Linked DNA regions of Homo sapiens: regions 2, 3, 4, 5, 6 and 7 are each linked to region 1. Evidence: promoter capture Hi-C in 16 types of primary human blood cells and fetal thymus (Javierre and others, 2016). All regions are on one chromosome and are shown on one strand. The core of a region is centred on a gene start or on the middle of the fragment in contact, and the rest is flanking DNA. Distances in the headings are between cores, read along the strand shown.

The links. Contacts are between HindIII fragments. The CHiCAGO score rates a contact against its expected background, and 5 or more counts as called.
Region 2: a fragment that was not itself captured here is called in contact with the fragment with the promoter of CBLN3 in region 1 in 4 of 17 cell types (non-activated CD4 T cells, naive B cells, activated CD4 T cells and 1 more); the score reaches 5.8 in non-activated CD4 T cells.
Region 3: a contact is called between a fragment that was not itself captured here and the fragment with the promoter of CBLN3 in region 1, in 5 of 17 cell types (neutrophils, non-activated CD4 T cells, naive CD8 T cells and 2 more). The highest score is 6.7, in neutrophils.
Region 4: the fragment with the promoter of FITM1 here is called in contact with the fragment with the promoter of CBLN3 in region 1 in 9 of 17 cell types (naive CD8 T cells, neutrophils, non-activated CD4 T cells and 6 more); the score reaches 8.4 in naive CD8 T cells.
Region 5: a fragment that was not itself captured here is called in contact with the fragment with the promoter of CBLN3 in region 1 in 3 of 17 cell types (total CD8 T cells, naive CD8 T cells and naive B cells); the score reaches 5.8 in total CD8 T cells.
Region 6: a contact is called between a fragment that was not itself captured here and the fragment with the promoter of CBLN3 in region 1, in 3 of 17 cell types (total CD4 T cells, naive CD4 T cells and activated CD4 T cells). The highest score is 6.2, in total CD4 T cells.
Region 7: a contact is called between a fragment that was not itself captured here and the fragment with the promoter of CBLN3 in region 1, in 3 of 17 cell types (total CD4 T cells, activated CD4 T cells and naive B cells). The highest score is 6.3, in total CD4 T cells.

Annotation. Positions count from the first base shown.
Region 1 is chr14:24,428,218-24,430,917 of GRCh38, reverse strand. It overlaps CBLN3 (cerebellin 3 precursor), which reads left to right and starts at 1,250. Exons shown (of 3, transcript NM_001039771.3): 1 at 1,250-2,163; 2 at 2,513-2,632. The coding sequence starts at 1,864. It overlaps KHNYN (KH and NYN domain containing), which reads right to left and starts at 964. Exons shown (of 8, transcript NM_015299.3): 1 at 799-964; 2 at 1-204. The coding sequence starts at 187. RefSeq lists enhancers at 1-233, 378-557 and a silencer at 588-1,127. The HindIII fragment of the contact is 4,979 bases long and covers 533-2,700 here.
Region 2 is chr14:24,041,674-24,044,373 of GRCh38, reverse strand. It overlaps the pseudogene DHRS4L1. Among named protein-coding and RNA genes, the nearest start is that of CARMIL3, 9.0 kb to the left of the region's middle. The HindIII fragment of the contact is 635 bases long and covers 1,045-1,679 here.
Region 3 is chr14:24,154,647-24,157,346 of GRCh38, reverse strand. RNF31 (ring finger protein 31) reads right to left here. Exons shown (of 21, transcript NM_017999.5): 12 at 2,017-2,190; 13 at 1,835-1,933; 14 at 1,655-1,744; 15 at 1-57. Among named protein-coding and RNA genes, the nearest start is that of IRF9, 5.3 kb to the left of the region's middle. The HindIII fragment of the contact is 7,637 bases long and covers 1-2,700 here.
Region 4 is chr14:24,129,292-24,131,991 of GRCh38, reverse strand. It overlaps FITM1 (fat storage inducing transmembrane protein 1), which reads right to left and starts at 1,333. Exons shown (of 2, transcript NM_203402.3): 1 at 163-1,333. The coding sequence starts at 428. The HindIII fragment of the contact is 10,773 bases long and covers 1-2,700 here.
Region 5 is chr14:24,077,699-24,080,398 of GRCh38, reverse strand. It overlaps CPNE6 (copine 6), which reads right to left. Exons shown (of 17, transcript NM_006032.4): 16 at 2,632-2,700; 17 at 2,312-2,511. The coding sequence ends at 2,669. NRL (neural retina leucine zipper) reads left to right here. Exons shown (of 3, transcript NM_001354768.3): 3 at 1-1,737. Among named protein-coding and RNA genes, the nearest start is that of CPNE6, 7.5 kb to the right of the region's middle. The HindIII fragment of the contact is 1,349 bases long and covers 693-2,041 here.
Region 6 is chr14:24,109,651-24,112,350 of GRCh38, reverse strand. All of the region lies in intron 1 of NRL (neural retina leucine zipper), which reads left to right. Among named protein-coding and RNA genes, the nearest start is that of DCAF11, 3.8 kb to the left of the region's middle. The HindIII fragment of the contact is 2,327 bases long and covers 145-2,471 here.
Region 7 is chr14:24,060,174-24,062,873 of GRCh38, reverse strand. It overlaps CARMIL3 (capping protein regulator and myosin 1 linker 3), which reads right to left. Exons shown (of 40, transcript NM_138360.4): 24 at 2,619-2,700; 25 at 2,118-2,246; 26 at 1,834-1,947; 27 at 1,202-1,377; 28 at 307-394; 29 at 28-165. Among named protein-coding and RNA genes, the nearest start is that of CARMIL3, 9.5 kb to the right of the region's middle. The HindIII fragment of the contact is 4,487 bases long and covers 1-2,700 here.

The DNA of each region.
Region 1 (2,700 bases), core at 1-2,500:
CGTTTTCCTTGGGGCCCTCCAGCTGCAGCCAGATGTGGGGGTTGTCCGGACAGTCCTTCGGAAGGACGCTCACCCCCACGCTGAAGATGCGCTCCACATGGGGCTGCTGTTCCCGAACCTTGTTCTCAGCCTCCGCAGACACCGCAAAGCGATCTGGGGACGCGGGGCGGGCCCCCCAGGTAGGCATGGCTGCTGCCCCCAGCCCTGGAAGGGGAGAAGGCAGCTCAGAGCCTCATTGTACCCTCCATCCAAATCCTGGTTCCTGGGACTACACCAGCTATCAACAGGTCGCACCTAGTTAAGGCTCTGGTAAACAGCCCCAGGAGGTGACAAGCATCTGAGTCCACTGGAGGTAGGGAGGGTGTATGTCACGCAGGCCTCTCCGGAGAGGAAGTCCCGGTAAACAAGGCTGTCTATCGAGAGTGGGCGTCTGGGCTTTGGAAAAGGATGACCACAGTCCGGAGCAAGAAGGGTGGGGGGGCTCCAGCTCGGCCTGGAGGCCAGAAGGAGTCTCCTGGGGCACTCTGAAGCTTCTTAAGGACGAATCCTCAGCAGGGGATTGAACTAGGCTGTCCTCTGGGGGCCCTGGTCTGCCATTTCCAAGGTTCAAGCCACTCCCACCCCTCCCCCAGCCGTCCGCTGCCCCTCTCCGTCGGGCCAGGAGCACCGCCCAGGGCCCAGGGGCCGGGCCGGGCCGGGCCCGCCCACCGCGGACTGGGGCAGCCACCCCGGGCCGGGCCTACTCCGCACCGCGGCCCCCGCTCCCCGCTCCCGGGCGCGGTGGAGGGGCGCGCCTACCGCCTCCGCCGCCCGCGCCGGCTTCAGGTCCTCTCAGCGCCCGCCAGGCCCCCGCTTTGCCCGCGCCCCCAGCCCAGGGGACAAGGGCAGGGGGCCCGAATCTGGGCGGGCCTTCCCGGGTTCCTCACCCAGCGGGGACCTCTCTTGTCCACATCGCACGCAAACTGTTTCTTGAGTCACTTCCTGGCCTGGGGCGGAGTCAGCCCAGCTCCTCCCGGCTGCGCGCCCTCCTCCCAACCCCGCCGCCGCGCCCAGAGGCCCCGACGGGCCCGCTCGGCCTAGTCCCCTCGGCGGCTCCAGGGCTCGCCCCTTGCGCTTCTCACCAGCCCTCCCGTCTGTCTCCCGGCCCTCAGGGTCCTCGCGCATTCTGCGCAGTTACTTCTCGGAAAGGGGAACCATGCGTTGAAAGTTGTTTCCCGCGAATAAAGATGTGGCCGACCAAAGAGGCAGCGTGACTGGCCCACTGGTGCTCTAGGCCCAAGCACTTTCCACCAAAGCAATCGTGGCGGAGGGGGTAGGCGGGAGGCGGGAGGCGGAGGGTACCCGTGGTGGAGTACCCCTTTCTTCCAACAAACGGAAAGATGCCACGAAGAAGGGCTGTTGATTTGTGGGGGATTTTGAAGAGAGGAAGAGTAGGAGGAAGGGGTTGAGGGGCTGCCTCTGGCATATGCACACACTCACACATTCTGTCACACCCGTCACACACACATACCATGTTCTCCATCCCCCCAGGTCCAGCCCTCAGTGCTGTCCCATCCAGCAGGGCTGCCCTGAAGCTCTGGCTGCAGCCCTCCCGTCCAGTGGGCAGGCGGCTTCATCCCTCCTTTCTCTCCCAAAGCCCAACTGCTGTCACTGCATGCTCTGCCAAGGAGGAGGGAACTGCAGTGACAGCAGGAGTAAGAGTGGGAGGCAGGACAGAGCTGGGACACAGGTATGGAGAGGGGGTTCAGCGAGCCTAGAGAGGGCAGACGATCAGGGTGCCGGCGGTGAGAATCCAGGGAGAGGAGCGGAAACAGAAGAGGGGCAGAAGACCGGGGCACTTGTGGGTTGCAGAGCCCCTCAGCCATGTTGGGAGCCAAGCCACACTGGCTACCAGGTCCCCTACACAGTCCCGGGCTGCCCTTGGTTCTGGTGCTTCTGGCCCTGGGGGCCGGGTGGGCCCAGGAGGGGTCAGAGCCCGTCCTGCTGGAGGGGGAGTGCCTGGTGGTCTGTGAGCCTGGCCGAGCTGCTGCAGGGGGGCCCGGGGGAGCAGCCCTGGGAGAGGCACCCCCTGGGCGAGTGGCATTTGCTGCGGTCCGAAGCCACCACCATGAGCCAGCAGGGGAAACCGGCAATGGCACCAGTGGGGCCATCTACTTCGACCAGGTAATCCCCCTACCCCTGTCCAGGGGACCTGGAAAGACCCTGCAAGGACCTGGAAGCAACTGTCCAAGCCCACTTTGCTGTCTCTGAGGCTTTAAGAAAACAGCTTCCTACATCTTTCACTAATCTGGCCTATTGCCCCACCACCCCACCGACGGTTTCCCCTCCCTCCACCCATACGCAGCCCTCTCCTTGCCCCTTCTCACCATTTCTTTTGAATCTGTTCACTCCTATTCACTCCTACTTGCCACTCCTTCTATTCATTACTCACTGCCCCTGCCCCTAGTCCCCATGGTACCCCTGAGCCATGGGCATTTCCTGAGCCCCACTCAGCAGGCTCTGCTTCCCCCAGGTCCTGGTGAACGAGGGCGGTGGCTTTGACCGGGCCTCTGGCTCCTTCGTAGCCCCTGTCCGGGGTGTCTACAGCTTCCGGTTCCATGTGGTGAAGGTGTACAACCGCCAAACTGTCCAGGTGACCTCAGCACTGGCCCCCATCCCCGGCTCAGGAGGGTGGGGAGGGGGAAGAAGGGGAGCCCAGCT
Region 2 (2,700 bases), core at 113-2,612, 390 kb after region 1:
GGAGGCGGGGGTTGCAGTGAGCTAGATCGCAGCACTGCACTCCAGCCTCGATGACACAGCGAGGAAAAAAAAAAAAAGAGGGACAAAGCTTAACAATAAAAAACTAGCTCACTGAAGAACATTTTGGCACTTTGGTCTTTATGTGTATGAAACACTGGTAAATAAATCATAGTGTTTTCACATCCTGATACTTTAGTGTTGAGAAATGTTTGATGACATCTGATATAGTTGGTATGTTTGTCCCCTCTAAGTCCCATGTTGAAATGTGATCACCAGTGTTCAAGGTGGAACCTGGTGTGAGGTGTTTGGGTCATGGGGTGGATCCCTTATGAATGGCTTGGTGCTCTCCTGGTGGCAATTAGTGAGCTCTCACTCTATTAGTTCATGCCAGAGCTAGTTGTTTAAAAGCCTGGTATCTCACTTCCTCTCTTGCCATGTAACGCGCCTGCTCCCTTTTGCCTTCTGCTATGATTGTAAGCTTCCTGAGGCCTCATCAGAAGCAGATACTGGCACCATGCTTCTTCTGCAGTCTGCAGAAGTGTAAACCAAAACAACCCTCTTTTCTTTTCTTTTTTTTTTTTTTTTGAGACGGAGTCTCGCTCTGTCACCCAGGCTGGAGTGCAGTGGCGCAATCTCGGCTCACTGCAAGCTCCGCCTCCCGGGTTCACACCATTCTCCTGCCTCAGCCTCCCAAGTAGCTGAGACTACAGGTGCCCGCCACCACACCCGGCTGATTTTTTGTATTTTTAGTAGAGACGGGCTTTCACCATGTTAGCCAAGATGGTCTCGATCTCCTGACCTCGTGATCTGCCCGCCTCGACCTCCCAAAGTGTTGGGATTACAGGCGTTAGCCACCGCGCCCGGCCACAACCCTCTTTTTCTTTATAAATTGCCCAGCTCAGGTATTCCTTTATAGCAACGCAAAACAGACTAATACAACATCAGAGTAAAAAGCAAAACCATGGGAGATCATAAAAAATTAGCATTTCCAAATCGTGGGACTATTAACCTTAGTATACAAAGACAAATATTTTAATTAAAGCTTTGTAATTAAAGAATGTGTGTGAAATATATTACGAATGTAATGTAATTATATACTTACACATAAAACCCAATATTGTACCACTTGAATATAGACATCTGGATCTCAGATTTTCTTGACATTGCAGTTAGGAAGAAAATAATATAGGTTTTTATTTTTACTTTTTTAAAGGATGTATATTATAAAGTGGCAACTGGTTATTTCACCAGAATTAGTATTTTACTTAACTAGCAGCTTTTAATATTTCCCAGCTAATGAAAAATGATTCCTTTTTGGCAGCTGAAAGGGGGACAGTTGGGTGTGTAAGTTTAAGTGTCATAGTTGTTGGCATATTAGCTGCCACGTCTCTGTTGGAAATCAACCAGGTAGCAGAGCATGCCGGGAAGAAGGCTGGGGAGGGGAGCAGACGGTGGATAGTGAAGGGCAGATGGAAGCAGACAGAAGTAGGAGCAGCAGAAACGAATGAGAAGGGCAGGGACAGAGGAAGCTGCCCCCACCCGCCCTTTACCAGGTGTGCTCCAGGTGTGTGGCATGTGGCAAAGACTCCTCACATTTACACTGCACTTGATAAACACATTCTAAAAGCAGACGGAGTTTGTTATCGATAGTGATAGGATATCAATAACTCCATGAAGCTTCATAGCCTAGGGAGAGGGGTAAGGTCTGGACCAGGGCTGCAGTAAGTAAGGGAGGTGCATTTATTCACGTTGATAAAAACTTCCTTCTGGGCGGGGCGTGGTGGCTCACGCCGGGAATCATGGCACTTTGGGAGGTCACGGTGGGAGGACCACTTGAACTGAGCAGTTTGAGAGAAGCCTGGGCAACATAGGGAGACCTTATCCCTATATTTAAAAAAACAACAACAATGACAACAACAACAACAACAAATCTTCCTTCTTAGGAACTATCGTCAAAATAACTTCTATTTCTTAAAACATCTTTTTTGAAAACTACCCTAAGATCTGCTGCTAACCATTTAAGGTTGGCTTCTTTCTTTTTTTAGATGGAGTCTTCCTCTGTCACCCAGGCTGGAGTTCAGTGGCATGATCCCAGCTCACTGCAGCCTTGACCTACTGGGTTCAAGCCATCCTCCTGCCTCAGCCCCCCAAGTAGCTGAGAATACAGGTGCGTGCCATCACACCTGGGCAATTTTTGTACTTTTTGTAGAGACAGGGTCTTGCCATGTTGCCCAGGCTGGTCTGGAACTCCTGAGCTAAAGCCATCCGCCTGCCTCGGCCTCTCAAAGTGTTACAGGTGTGAGCCACCAGGAAGTTGGCCTTATTTCTTTTGCAGTGTTTTCTTCCCACCTCCTATTCTTCTAAGGCTGTCTCTGACCCTATGCTCTTTTCTTTACATTTTCCCATTTGGGAGCTCCTTCATTCTCGTGATTTCAAATCTCACCCCAAAATCTATTTCCAGACCCCTCCTCTTCCTTTCACACTGAGTTCCACCCACATTTCTCCAAGTGCTTACTGTCCAGTTCTTCTTGAATAAGTTACCATTATTTCAAAGTCAATCTGGCCACACTTACCTGAATGGAAAAACTGGCTTAAATAGAGCTGTAGAAAGTTACCCTGGAGGGGCCTTTGAGATCATCTATTCCAATGTCCTTAAGGTGGAGATGATGAAACAGGTTCAGGGAATTTTCTCAAGATCAT
Region 3 (2,700 bases), core at 1-2,500, 270 kb after region 1:
CATGCGTTTCCAGTTCTGGAAGTCCTCACAGCTCCGACCTCGGTGCTGCTCCTCCCACTGCCAGAGGGAAAGTAGGCTTCACATGGGAGCTCTATCCCATCCCCTGGCCTTTCTTGCTGGCCCCTCCACTCACATCCAGTGGTTCCCCAGCTTGGTTTATGTCACTGCCACCTACCATTTGCTCAGATCTCAAAATGAGAGGCCATCCTTGGTCCTTTCATTTTCTCCTACCACCTCACACTACTTTTGCCTTGTTTCCACCCCACAGACCATCTCAACCATATCCCCTTTTCCTTCATCCCTACTGCTACCACTTTACTCCAGGCCACCATCAGACCTTGCCTCAATTGCTTGCCTCGGTTACTAGTCTCTCTGTTTCCCATTCCTGCTCCCCTAGGGTCAATTCTCCCCATGGCTGTCAAAAGTCCTTCAAAACTGTAAGTCAGGTAGCTTCCACAGGATTGGTGGTGTTTTGGTTCTGTGGTAGTCTCAGGTGTTCACTTTATTTCAGACATGATGCAGATGAAATTTTTTTCGTATCAAATATTACACTTCTTTTTTTTTTTTTGAGATGGAGTCTCGCTCTGTCACCCAGGCTGGAGTGCAATGGCGTGATCTTGGCTCACTGCAGCCTCCACCTCCTGGGTTCAAGCGATTCTCCTGCCTCAGCCTCCAGAGTAGTTGGGATTACAGGCACATGCCACCACACCCGGCTAATTTTTGTATTTTTAGTAGAGACGGGGTTTCACCATATTGGGAGGCTGGTCTTGAACTCCCAACCTCAAGTGATCCACCCACCATGGCCTCCCAAAGTGCTGGGATTACAGGCGGAAGCCACCATGCCTAGCCAAATATTACACTTCTTAAAAGATAAATGTGGCTGGGCATAGTGGCTCATGCCTGTAATCCCAGTACTTTGGAAGGCTGAGGCGAGGGATCACTTGAGACCAGGAGTTGGAGGCTGCAGTGAGCTGTGACTGCACCAGTGGACCCCAGCCTGGGTGACAGTGAGTTGTCTCTAAAAATAAATAAATAAATAAATAAACGAAAGATAAATGAGATAGTATCACCCTTGCTTTATCTCAGAATGAAGGCAGACGGACGCCTGCTTCACGTGGCCTCCAGGGCTCTACAGACCTGGCAGCTGGCTTCTCTCTGACCACCTGCCATTCCCGCCTTGCTTTCCAGGCTCCAGCCATACAACACTTTTTTCTGATTCTGGCCTTTCCATGTGTTGTTCTTTCTCTCCCAAATGCTCTTTGCATGGCTGGCTTCTTTTTAATGTTTAGGCCTGAGCTTAAACCATTTTAGAGAAGACTTGTCTGACCTCTCTACCCTAAGTAGGTCCACTCTGTTACCCTGATCTCAGGTTCCTGTTTGTTTTCTTCATAGAATTTATGCCTATGTATAATTAGTTCCTCTGGCTTACTTTCTTTCCTTCCTTCCTTCCTCCTCCCCTTTCCTTTCCCTCCCGATTTCCTCCCTCCCTCTGCTTCCCTTTCTCCTTGTGCCTAGTCTTTCTGAGTAGTCTGTAAGCTCTTTTGACCTCAGAGCTCATGTCTGTTTTGCTCTCCAGTACACAAACTCCCCTGAGTCTAACACAGTACCTGGCAGTAGCTCAGCAAGTATTTCTGAAAGGATGAATGTGCCTCACCTGGCGCTTGCAGCGCACACAGAAGGTCTGGTGACACTGGGGACAAGTTGCCTCCAGCTGCTCACGCTCATATATGAAGCCAAAGGAGCACTGGAAGTGCAAGAGCATAAAGTTATCAAAGGCCTGACCTGGAACCATCCCCTGCCCCTCCACAGTAGCTGCCCTGGGCAGGCCACTTACCTGGGCACACCACAAGAACTTGGGGTCCCGCATCAGCACACCCTCGGTCAGCTTCTTATGGAACAACGCATAGGCATCTGGCTCTAGGCTCTCGCGAAGCTGGGGACAGGATGCAGAGGTGGTGGGTGGGAGGGTCCCTGTTCAAAGCTCAGGGTACCTGAGTCCTAGAGGGGCTGCAGTACCTGGATGTCAAGGGTAGAGAAGTAGCTGAGCAACTGTGTGTCATCGGTGAGGTCGGGGCGGCCACAGGCAGGGCACACCATGTCTGTGATGTGCTTCTCCTTCAAGGCGATGGTGAAGTGCTGGCGGAAGCAGTCAGGACAGATGGTGCACTCACAGGAAGTCAGGGCCTGCATCTGGAGGGTGAGGGGTTGGAGGGGAGGGGGTCAGAAGCCACAGCTGCCAGGCTAGGGAAGAGGCAGTGGCCAGGTGTCCACTAAGAAATCAGGGTCTAATTAACAACTGGGCAGGGTTAACAACCTCAAGTGCCAGCAGGGGCCAGGCAGGCAACGTAAACATCTGAAGACAGTCGGGTGGAGGAAAATAGACAATGGTGACACCTAAGGTAAAGGCAAAAGTGCCTATAAAAACATTCATATTCCATTAAATATACAAATAACATGCTTGAAATGACAAAACTATAGAGGTGGAGAACAGCTTCATGGTTGCCAGGTGACTAGAAGTGGGGGCAGAAGGGTATAACTAAAGAGGTACATGAGAGAGTTCCTTTGTGGTGATGAAACAATCTGTATCTTGATTATGGTGGTGGTTATATGCATCCATACGTGGGACAGAACTGCATAGAACCACACATACACACAGCGGCATATCCATGAGAAAAATGAACAAGACCTGTAGTATAGCTA
Region 4 (2,700 bases), core at 84-2,583, 300 kb after region 1:
CCTGTACCCCAGGGCTCTGTTCCCTTCCCCCTCCCCCGACCTTTTCCTCAACCTCCTAGCCTATTTTTAGTGTTCAGACTGGCAGGAGGACAGAAGCCTGGAGAAGGGAGCTAGGATCCCAGAGTGCAGGGACCCGGCTCCCACAGCCTTGAGTGGACTCACATGTTGAAGAAGTTGCCGTGGCTGGCGAAGATAGTCCGAGGGTTGACATGGAACTGCAGAAGCGGCCCAAAGATGACCACTGCTGCCAGCCAGGCATGGTAGAGGCGCCGTAAGCAGGGGCTGCCCAGAAGGCGGGCGGCCTGTTCGCTTCCAAAGTACAGCAAGGCAGAGGCCACCCAGAGCAGCACCTTGAGCAGGCAGCCCAGCAGTGCCTGGATTCGGGCCCCGGCCCCCAGTCCTGCCCCCACCACCGGCCCCCGCTCCATGTTCCCTCCCCTCCCCACTAACTGCTTGCTTTGCTGGGCAGCTGAGGAGGGGCTGATGGGGCCCCCCCTGGACAAGGATAGGCAGTGACAGGTGTGGCAGACACAAGGCAGAGCCCTGTTGGCAGCTGGCAGGTGGGGGAGAGGGGCGGGGGGCAGTAAGGGGCCAGGGTGGAGGTCTGCCACGTCAGCAGGGTCCTGGCCTCGGGTGTGTGGTAGTATGTGTCCTGACAGCAGTCTGTGTCCTTTCCTGTTAGTCCTGTGTCCTTGGCTCCGACCATGTTCCAGTTCCTGTGACAGGGCCAGCTGTTCAGGGCTGTCCTTGTCCATAGTCTGCCAAAGTCCCTCTCCACCCACCCCTACTTTACCATTTGCTCCACAGGGAAATCAGAGGTCATGGAGATAAAAATAACCAAACCTTGAAAGTCGTTTTTTAAAAAAAGCTGCCAGTCTTATCAGTGTGATCTAGCCCTTCTCCTGGGGTTCTGAGCACAAGAGCCCACCAACAGCAGGATGCAGCAAGGTGGCTGTGCACAGCACTGTGGCCATCATAGGCCTTGGGAGGCAGATCAGCATGGGTATCCACTTCAGTGCCCTGTGACCCCAGCAGCTTGGCTCTGCCCTAGTTCCTGTCTGGATTGAGGGTCTCTAAGGGACTAGTTTGGCCCAGGGCTGCTGTATAAACTGGCGGTTTCATCTGTTGATCACGTTGACCCTCAGATCCCTAAAGATTAGGTTTACTCCCAGGTGACAGAGGTAGAGGAGACCCTAAAAGGGCAATTGCCAGACAGGAGTCAATTGAAACCTTAAGTTCCATCCTCCAACCAACTACCCTGGGCCTCAGGGCTCTCCATATAAGCCTGCCCTCCCAGTCTGACTGCTGAGGCGGCGACAGCAGGGCAGTCAGCTACCTATCCACGGAGAGTGCCTGTTAGTCAGTAACTGTTTCGAGATCACTTTTTCTTTCTTCCTCATTCCTCAAAACCAGTGGTGGGATTTCAGAGCACAGCGGAAGTAGTGAAAGGAATGAGCAAGCAAGGACACCTGAGTTCTGGGCCCAACTGTGTGACTTTAGGAAAATCAATGAACCCTCTTCAGTCCTCAGTAAATCAATTTCCTTTATAAACTGATCAAGACAGATTGGATAATCAATCAGATTCCTTCCAGATCCTAAAGCCCATACCTTGGAATAGTGACCTTCAATGAACCCTATAAAAGAATTTTGAACTAGGCTGGGCATGGTGGTTCACGCCTATAATCCCAGCAGTTTGGGAGGCTGAGGTGGATGGATCGCCTGAGGCCAGCCTGGCCAACATAGTGAAACCCCGTCTCTACTGAAAATAAAAAAATTAGCTGGGCACGGTGGCGGGCGCCTGTAATCCCAGCTATTCTGGAGGCTGAGGCAGGAGAATCGCTTGAACACGGGAGGCGGAGGTTGCAGTGAGCCGAGATTGTGCCATTGCACTCCAGCCTGAGCAACAACAGCAAGACTCCGTCTTAAAAAAAAAAATTCTTTCCACTCATTTTTATTTATTAAAGTTTTATGATTTATTTTTTTGAGACAGTGTCTCACGCTTGCCCAGGCTGGAATGCAGTGTGCTATCACGGCTCACTGCAGCCTCAAACTCCTGGGCTCAAGTGATCATCTGCCCTAGCCTCCTGAGTAGCTAGAACTACAGGAATGCATCACCATGGTTGGTTATTTTTTATTTTTTGGCCAGGTGTGGTAGCTCATGCCTGTAATCCCAGCACTTTGGGACCAGCCTGAGGAGCCACAGGAGTTCGGGACCACCTTGAGCTGGTCTCACACAGTGAGACGCCGTCCCTACAAAAATTAAAAAAATTAGCTGGGCATAGTGGCACGTGCCTGTAATTCCAGCTACTTGGGAGGCCGAAATGGGAGGATCACTTGGGCCCAGGAGGTTGACATTGCAGTGAGCCGTGATGGCACTATTGCACTCCAAGCCTAAGCAACAGAGTGAGACCTTGTTTCAATATTTATTTTGTAGAGACAAAGTCTCACTAAGTTGACCAGGCTGGTCTTGAACTCCTGGCCTCAGGTGATCTTCCTGCCTTGGCCTCCCAGAGTGGTGGGATTACAGGCATGAGCTACCATGCCTGGTCTCATTGTGGTTTTAAATAGTTGCAAAGGACATAATTTCTAGTGTATCATATACTGACATTTCAAAATAAATCCATTATATCACTGTTTCAAATGTATCCAATGAAATGTAAATACTACAGTGATTAGATACTTCACCTTTATCCATTAAAA
Region 5 (2,700 bases), core at 118-2,617, 350 kb after region 1:
CAGTTTCCCAGCTGCAGCCTAGGCAGGGGATGCACAGCCCAGGCGAGGAAGCCTGGCTTCTCTGTGAGCACATACGTGGGTCCTCGGCAGCTCCCTCCAGGCTGTCTGGGCCTCCAGACCTGCACAGGGTGCTCCTGCCACCTCCCACCTCTCTGAGGGCTGAGGTGAGACTTCTCCTGGGATGACAATTTGCTGAGAGAGTGCAGCTTTTGTGAATTAAACTTGAAGTCCAGGCAGAATTCTAATGCAATAAGCTAAATGTTCTTGCAATTTAAGAAGTGTTCATTCTTTATCCCTGCTTCAGGCTACTGTTTGTGTGTCTGTGTGTGGGAGAGGGAGAGAGAGGGAGAGAGAGAGAGAGCAAGAAAAAGGGAAGTCCCCACCTGGAGCTGGGTGGCACATCTGTTATGGAGAGCCAATGGAAATGGGGTGGAGGGGCAGGCATTGGAACAGATGGATCCTCCCCCTCTCACCACCACCACCACCAAACTCAGAAGCCTCAGTGGCCCAGCTCGGCCTGTCAGTGGCTATCCAGGTCTCACAGTTTCCATGGTAACCCAGTCCTCCAGTTCAGCAGGCTAAGGGGAGGGCAGATGGGGCCTCTGGGCAGAGCACAGGCGTTGTGCTGGGAGCAGCCGCCTCACGAGTTACTGTCATCTGTCCTCTACCGGACATAATAAATGGGAGAAGCTTTCGGGCATGGGGGAAGAGGCTCCCATATGTCCCTCTTCCTTTCTACCCCCTCTCTCCACCCCCTCCCCAGCTGTCTCTTCTCTTCCCATCACAGTTCTTGCTCCCTCTTTCCCCTCCTCTATCCCAGCTCATCCCTCCTCCGCTTAGGAGCCTGCAATGGGAGTCCTCTCCTCCATCGCTCTCAGAATTTCTCTCGTCTCCTCTCCCTTCCCCACCATTGGCCACTGGCCATCCTCTCTGGCTCTGGATTCTCTCTCTGAGGGGCTCACAGAACCTTTAGCTTCTCTTTCTTCATCCCCTTCCACACTCATTGTTGAAGGGAGAGGATGGGGCAGGGAGGGTCCTTCCGGGAGCCCAGCTCTTTTTCTCTCACTCTAAATTTCACCTGTGTCTATCCTTGCCTGCCCTGGAGCTGTAATTCAGACCCACTACTTTTCTTGTTCACTTTTCTCACCTGCATGGCACACAAAGACAGACAGAACCATCCATAGACACCTGAGCACACAACTAGGCCACATATACAGTACCATACCTGGGTCTCAAAATGATACTCCTGGGTTACCTGAGTATACTTAAAAAAACAAAGTTGCACACTGTGGTGATTAAGAGTAGTGCTTTAGGTGGGGCGCAGTGGTTCCTGCCTGTAATCCCAACACTTTGGGAGGCCAAGGAGGAAGTTTGAGACCAGCCTGGGCAACATAGCGAGAACCCTGTCACTACAAAAAAATAAAATAAAATAAATTCAGATGTAATGGCATGCACCTGGAGTCCCACCTACCCAGGAGGCTAAGGTGGAAGGATAACTTGAGCCCAGGAGTTCGGGGATGCAGTGAGCCATAATCGTGCCACTGCATTCCAGCCTGGGTGGCAGAGTGAGACCCTGTTTCAAGTTGCAGTTCTACCAGTTTTTTGACCATGGGTGGGTTAAAATCAAGCCTCACTTGATTGTCAGAAAAATGGTGAAAATAATGGTAACCACCTACTGAGAATAAATGCATTTAAATAAGCACTTAGCATAAAGTTGACACATGCTACGTAATGATATTTGCTGTTGTTGCTGATGTGATTGTTAAGTGTGTGAATCTGTGTGTTCATGCACTGCACATCCCTGAGTCCATGAGTGTGACCCATTAAGGCCATGAACAGACACACACATTGACACACCCGGGAAACCAGACTGTATAGGCCTTAGATGCTCCACTATGTTCCCAATTCACTAGCAGACCTGCTGCCCTCCTTCAGTATCCCCCAGCACCTGCTCTTGGCCCGCCCCACAGCTGTGTGGGGGCTGGGGTTCAGCTCCTGGGGGACTCAGCAGGGCCTCTCTGGAGACAGCTATAAGAAAGCTTCAGCCTGCCCTCCTGACAGCCCGTAATTATCCTCCTATCTCCTGTAATTATTCTCCATGGTGCCTAGACCCCCTGGGGTTGGGAGGTGAGGGAGGGGGCTCCTCAGATCCCACTGGCACATAGCTGGGGTAAGACTGCAGAGACAGCAGCCTGCCTGGGGAGCTCTGTCTCAGATTTTGAAAGGTGCTGGTCCTCATTTCTTATGGTGTGTGTGGGGGTGCTGCAGGCTGCCCAGTGGGCATCTGAGGCATGATGGTTAGAGGCTGAGGTGCTAGGAGCAGTTCTCTTTATTAATGGCTAGAAAGTCAGGATCACCCAAGGAAGTCACTGAGGGGCCACAGCATTGAAGGGTATGGGGTTTGGAGAGATAGGAGCAGGACCCACCACTCACGTCCAGAACCCAGGGGGCACACCTGGTCCAAGAGGTGGAGGCATTGGTCACTGGAGTCACGAGGGTCAGGACAGGCACCTGGGAGGGGGTGGGAGAGTCATAAGCACTCTCTTCTACACTACACCCAGCCTAGTTGGGCTCTACCAAGCCCCACTTTGCACCCCCTGTGTCCACTCCTTTGGAAGCCCCAGGACTCACTGAGAGGCTGAGGGAGTGTCGGTCCGGAGGGAGGCAGTCACGGGCTAGGGCTGGGAGTCGTAGCCAGTG
Region 6 (2,700 bases), core at 59-2,558, 320 kb after region 1:
TGAGGCCAGCATCATTCTGATACCAAAGCCGGGCAGAGACACAACCAAAAAAGAGAATTTTAGACCAATATCCTTGATGAACATTGATGCAAAAATCCTCAATAAAATACTGGCAAACCGAATCCAGCAGCACATCAAAAAGCTTATCGACCATGATCAAGTGGGCTTCATCCCTGGGATGCAAGGCTGGTTCAATATACGCAAATCAATAAATGTAATCCAGCATATAAACAGAGCCAAAGACAAAAACCACATGATTATCTCAATAGATGCAGAAAAAGCCTTTGACAAAATTCAACAACCCTTCATGCTAAAAACTCTCAATAAATTAGGTATTGATGGGACGTATTTCAAAATAATAAGAGCTATCTATGACAAACCCACAGCCAATATCATACTGAATGGGCAAAAACTGGAAGCATTCCCTTTGAAAACTGGCACAAGACAGGGATGCCCTCTCTCACCGCTCCTATTCAACATAGTGTTGGAAGTTCTGGCCAGGGCAATCAGGCAGGAGAAGGAAATAAAGGGTATTCAATTAGGAAAAGAGGAAGTCAAATTGTCCCTGTTTGCAGACGACATGATTGTTTATCTAGAAAACCCCATCGTCTCAGCCCAAAATCTCCTTAAGCTGATAAGCAACTTCAGCAAAGTCTCAGGACGGAATCATTTTTTAAAAAAATTGGCCGGGCGCGGTGGCTCACGCCTGTAATCCCAGCACTTTGGGAGGCCAAGGCGGGTGGATCACCTGAGGTCAGGAGTTCGAGACCAGCCTGGCCAACATGGTGAAACCCCGTCACTAAAAAAAAAAAAGCCGAGTGTGGTGGCATGCGCTTGTAATCCCAGCCACTCGAGAGGCTGAGGCAAGAGAATCGCTTGAACCCGGGAGGTGGAGGTTGCATTGAGCCGAGATCACGCCACTGCACTCCAGCCTGGGCTACAAAAGCGAAACTCCGTCACACACACACAAAAAACAATCAACCAACCAAACAAAAAACACCTATGCCTCTTCCGGTAGTTGATCTGCTGAAGAATCCTCCTCTAACAGCATTTAGTGCTTAACGCACAAGTGAGCTGGGCACGGTGGCTTACGACTGTAATTCCAGCACTGTGGGAGGCCGAGGAGGAGGATCATTTGTGGCCAGGAGTTCAAGGCCAGCCTGGGCAACATAGTGAGACCCAGTCTACAAAAAGAAAAAAAAAATAGCCGGCCATCGTGGCGCGTGCCTATGGTCCCAACTTACTTGGGAAGGATGAAGGAGGGAATCTTGAGCCTATGAGGTGGAGGCTGCAGTGAGCCATGATTGCTCCACTGTACTCCAGCCTGGGGATAGAGCTAAAGACTGTCTCTAAAAGAAAATCAACAAATGGCTCACTATTGTTCATTGTTTCAAATACAAACTTCCAAACCTGGATGTCTATTTTTAGTAACCTCATTTTTTGATATTTCTGCTAAGCAAATATGCCAATAAATAGCTTGTTTATTTTTACCTCTGCACCTTCCCAGGAGAATTTCTTATTAGAGGGAAGCTGTCTACAAAACTCCCTTCCTCACAGCCTTGCACTTTGACCCAGTAATACTGCTTCCAGAAATCTAGGCCGGACATGCATAAAAATTTATGTTCTACATAGCAATTATTGATAAAAGTGGAACACTGGAAACAAAGATCTAAATATCTTGCAATATGGGATTGTTAAATAAATTATGGTCCATGTAGTATAGACACAGAAATACCAGGTAGCTATTAAAATGGTGTTGTAGTCTTCAATTTTTTTTTAAGGTACCTATTCCTGGTATAGGTTTGTTGTAGCCTTCTATTTTTATACCATAGGAAATTGTGCAAACTACATTGTCAAGTTAAAAAAATAAAGATAATCATTTCTTCTGGTGACATGTAATAGATGCAAAAACGATGTGGTTTCATTTTTTCATTAGAAAGTATAATAGGCGTGGTAGCTCACACCTGTAATCCCAGTACTTTGAGAGGCTGAGGCGGGCAGCTCGCTTGACCACAGGAATTTGAGATCAGCCTGGGCAATGTGACGAAACCCCATCTCTACGAAAAATACAAAAACAAAATTGAGCTGGGCCTGTAGTCTTGGCTACCCAGGATGCTGAGGTGGAAGGATCACCTGAGTCTGGTCAAGGCTGCAGTGAGCCATGATTGCGCCACTGCACTTCATCCAGCCTGGGCGAGAATGAGACCCCGTCTCAAAGAAAAAAAAAAAAAGTATAATAATACCCAGCTCATTACATCATTAAACAAAGTGGGGAGGGCTTGCATGAACTGGTGACAAAGGTGTAGCTTCTACAAAGGATTATGATGAATACAGCTATAGCACCTGAGGTCCAGAAAAACGAACAAAAAACTTCTGTTAAACTTATCTCCTTAACAATTCATTTTTTGATTCTCTTTTCTCTTCTTCTTACAAATTAGTTTAAACCTGAATAAAATCTTTTAATTCAAGCTTTTGTAATATGGAACTTGTACATTATTGAGTAAAACATTTAAAAGTCATGGTAAATGTTAAAATAACTGAGGTTTTATGACAAAATTGAGTCCTTCACATCACATGGGAAAGAATATAAGATTAATCACTGGATTCATTGATTAATTTTTTTGCGTATAAAAGATTTTTTTTTTTTTTTTTTGAGATGGAGTCTTGCTCTGTCACCCAGGCTGGAGTGCAGTGGACCGA
Region 7 (2,700 bases), core at 75-2,574, 370 kb after region 1:
AGGAGGAGCAGGGAGCGGGGGGCTCACAATGTTGGTCCCAAGTTCATCATCTGTGGTCTCCTCATGGTCATGGTTCCGGCCTCGGCCCCGGGAGGACAGATCCTGCCCTTGGCCTGGGCACCCTGGTGGATCTGACAGCGTCCTTAGCTGGGTCAGGTGCCGGGCCTGGGGAAGGGCAGGTGTGAACAGAATTCCATGGAAGCTGCCCACCTCCCAGGGCCTTGAAGGGGAGGGTGATTAGGGAGACAGGATAATGTGGGGTGGAGGGCGTGCCCGAGCCAGGCCAGGCTGCAGAAGAAGCCTTACCAGGCTCTTGTGGGAATGGTAGAGCTCTTGCAGGATCTCATCCACTATGGAGCTGGTTAGGTAGGTGACGACTGAGAGCTTCACTTCACTGTGGGCACAGGTGGGGCTACTCAGAACATTAGCACCTCAGTCCCCCGCATGGCCCCTGAGGCACTCCCTCTCCCAGAAGCCTGAGAGAACGGCCAGCTGGCCTGGTCTGTCTGCCCATGGAGCGCATGTGGCTGCTGAAGGAGGCAGCCTAGCCCTTGACACTCATTTCTCCACAAATACACGTCTAGTCCCACCCCAGAGCCCCCAGCCCAACTATGTGTGGGGAAAGAGGAATTCGAGGAGAAGGAGCAAGGGGGCCCTAGGTCAGGCCCCTGGAGCCCCAGTGGAACAGAGCTAGGTAATTGGGGTGCTGAGTAACTAAACCCTGCTAGTTGCTACTGTGAGGGTAGGAAAGACCCTTCCTTGGGCCTAGCTGTTTCATAGGTATGTGTACTAGTTTTCCTTTGGTTTGGTGAGTGGTGGCACCCAGACCCAGAATGAAAGAACTCTAGGGGCAATGAAAACTGGGAGGAAGACAGTGCTTCCATGCACCCAACTCAGGTACTTTTCTTTGTCCATGCCTCCGAGGAGGCCCTGCTATCCCATTCCTGGTGTATTTGTGTGGGTATGTGTGTGTACACCTGTGTGGGCACAAACTTGGCTCCTAAACCCCAGCTCAGCACTTAGATTTCTAGGGCAAAGACCAGCCAGACCCTAAATAGCAAGGTTGCACTTGGTTAAAGATTGATCCTTGTAATGGAGATTGTGCCATTCATTATTCATTGCTGATAGCTCTCCAGTCCTAAGTCCCTAAGTGATCTGGGCCAAATCCAGCTCAGCCCCAGCCCTGCCCTTTGCCTCTCACTCCAGCTTGTTCTGAATGTCCTGTCCTGCTTGCTCCAGCAGTGCCCCTCGGATGAAGTTCCGGGGCACAGTGACACGCTCCGCCACATTGCTCAGCATCTTGTTGTGTCCCTCGGCCACCCGCATGGCCACAGGGCATAACTCCTGTGTCAGGCTGACCATGGACTCCAGGATCACCTAGTATGGGGGAAAGGGAGGCCAGAGGCCCAAGGGGGACAGGATCAGGGCTGGCACCACAGCAGAAGAGACTTTATCTATTCCAGCCCCTCCTGCTGAGACTGAGGGACCTGCCTAAGTCACAAAACTGTTAGTGGCAGAGCCTTGGACACTAAGGCTTCCCCACTTTCTGGTCAGTGCTCCTTCCACCCTACCATACAGACAGGGGCAGTCAGTCCAAGGATCCAAATCCAGAGCAGGGAGGTCAGAGTTCAGGGACCAACATCAAAGCTAGCAGAAAAAAATCCAAGCCTGATATTGCAGCAATGCCTTGGTACAGTGGGAGCGTGGGTGGTCTCAACTCTGCATGTCCTCCTGGCCCTCCAGAAGTCTCCCAGCTCTGACTTTAGCTCTGGGCTTAGGGCCTCAGTCAACACTAGGTTCCCACCATGGATTCCTCCCTCCTCCAGGACTTGCCTGCAGCTCCTTGTCCACAGCTTTGGACACCTCACTTGCTACTGATTCCAGCCTCTGCCGCACAGGCCCATCATTGGCCAGCACGTGGCCCAGCTCATAGAGGCTGGGAAACAGCTGGAGAAGGAAGGGGTTATGATTAGCAGGCCAGAACCAGGACTTGCTAGGTCTCTGGGGTCCCTGGGCTAGGAAGGCAGATGCACAGGGCAGGGCTGTCATGGCTTAGCATGGTCGGCCTTCTTGGGTTCTCCAGACTTCAGGGGAAGGGTAGCCTGTGGAGGGCTCACCGCCCGGGAGTTCTTGGCATCTTTGATGAGGTCCCGAGCGTAGAGTAGCTCATCCTGCACAGGCTCCAGGGGGCATAGTCTCAGGGCCCGCACCTCCTCCTGCACTCGTCCACACAGCCGCTGCAGCATCTGGAGCACAGTGGCAGGGGTGTCAAGGGGACCCCTGCTTCCACATCTTCGCAGGTAGGACCCCTTAGACAGTGCTACTGGTGCTGGCACCGACAGTGGTGGAGGTGATGTCTCTGGCTGGCCTGGTCCCCATTGCTACAGCCTTCTTGAATGCCCAGCTGAGCTCCCAGAGTCCTGTGCACTCCTGCTGTTCGCCCACATATGTTTGAAGCCCATATCCTGCATGTCCTCTCTTTTTGCTTCCCCACATGCTCAGTCCAGTGATAGGCACCATGCAGTGCCTCTTCATGCTCCCCCACTCAATTTTCCATCACATCACACTGTGCCCTGCATGCCCCGGGTATGCCCCGTGTCCCAGAGGGAAACGTTTACTTGCTCGGCGCTGCTGGTCACCAGGCCCTGCTGCAACCTGAAGGCCTGCTCCTGGGGGCACGTCTGGGAGTGGTTGTTCCTC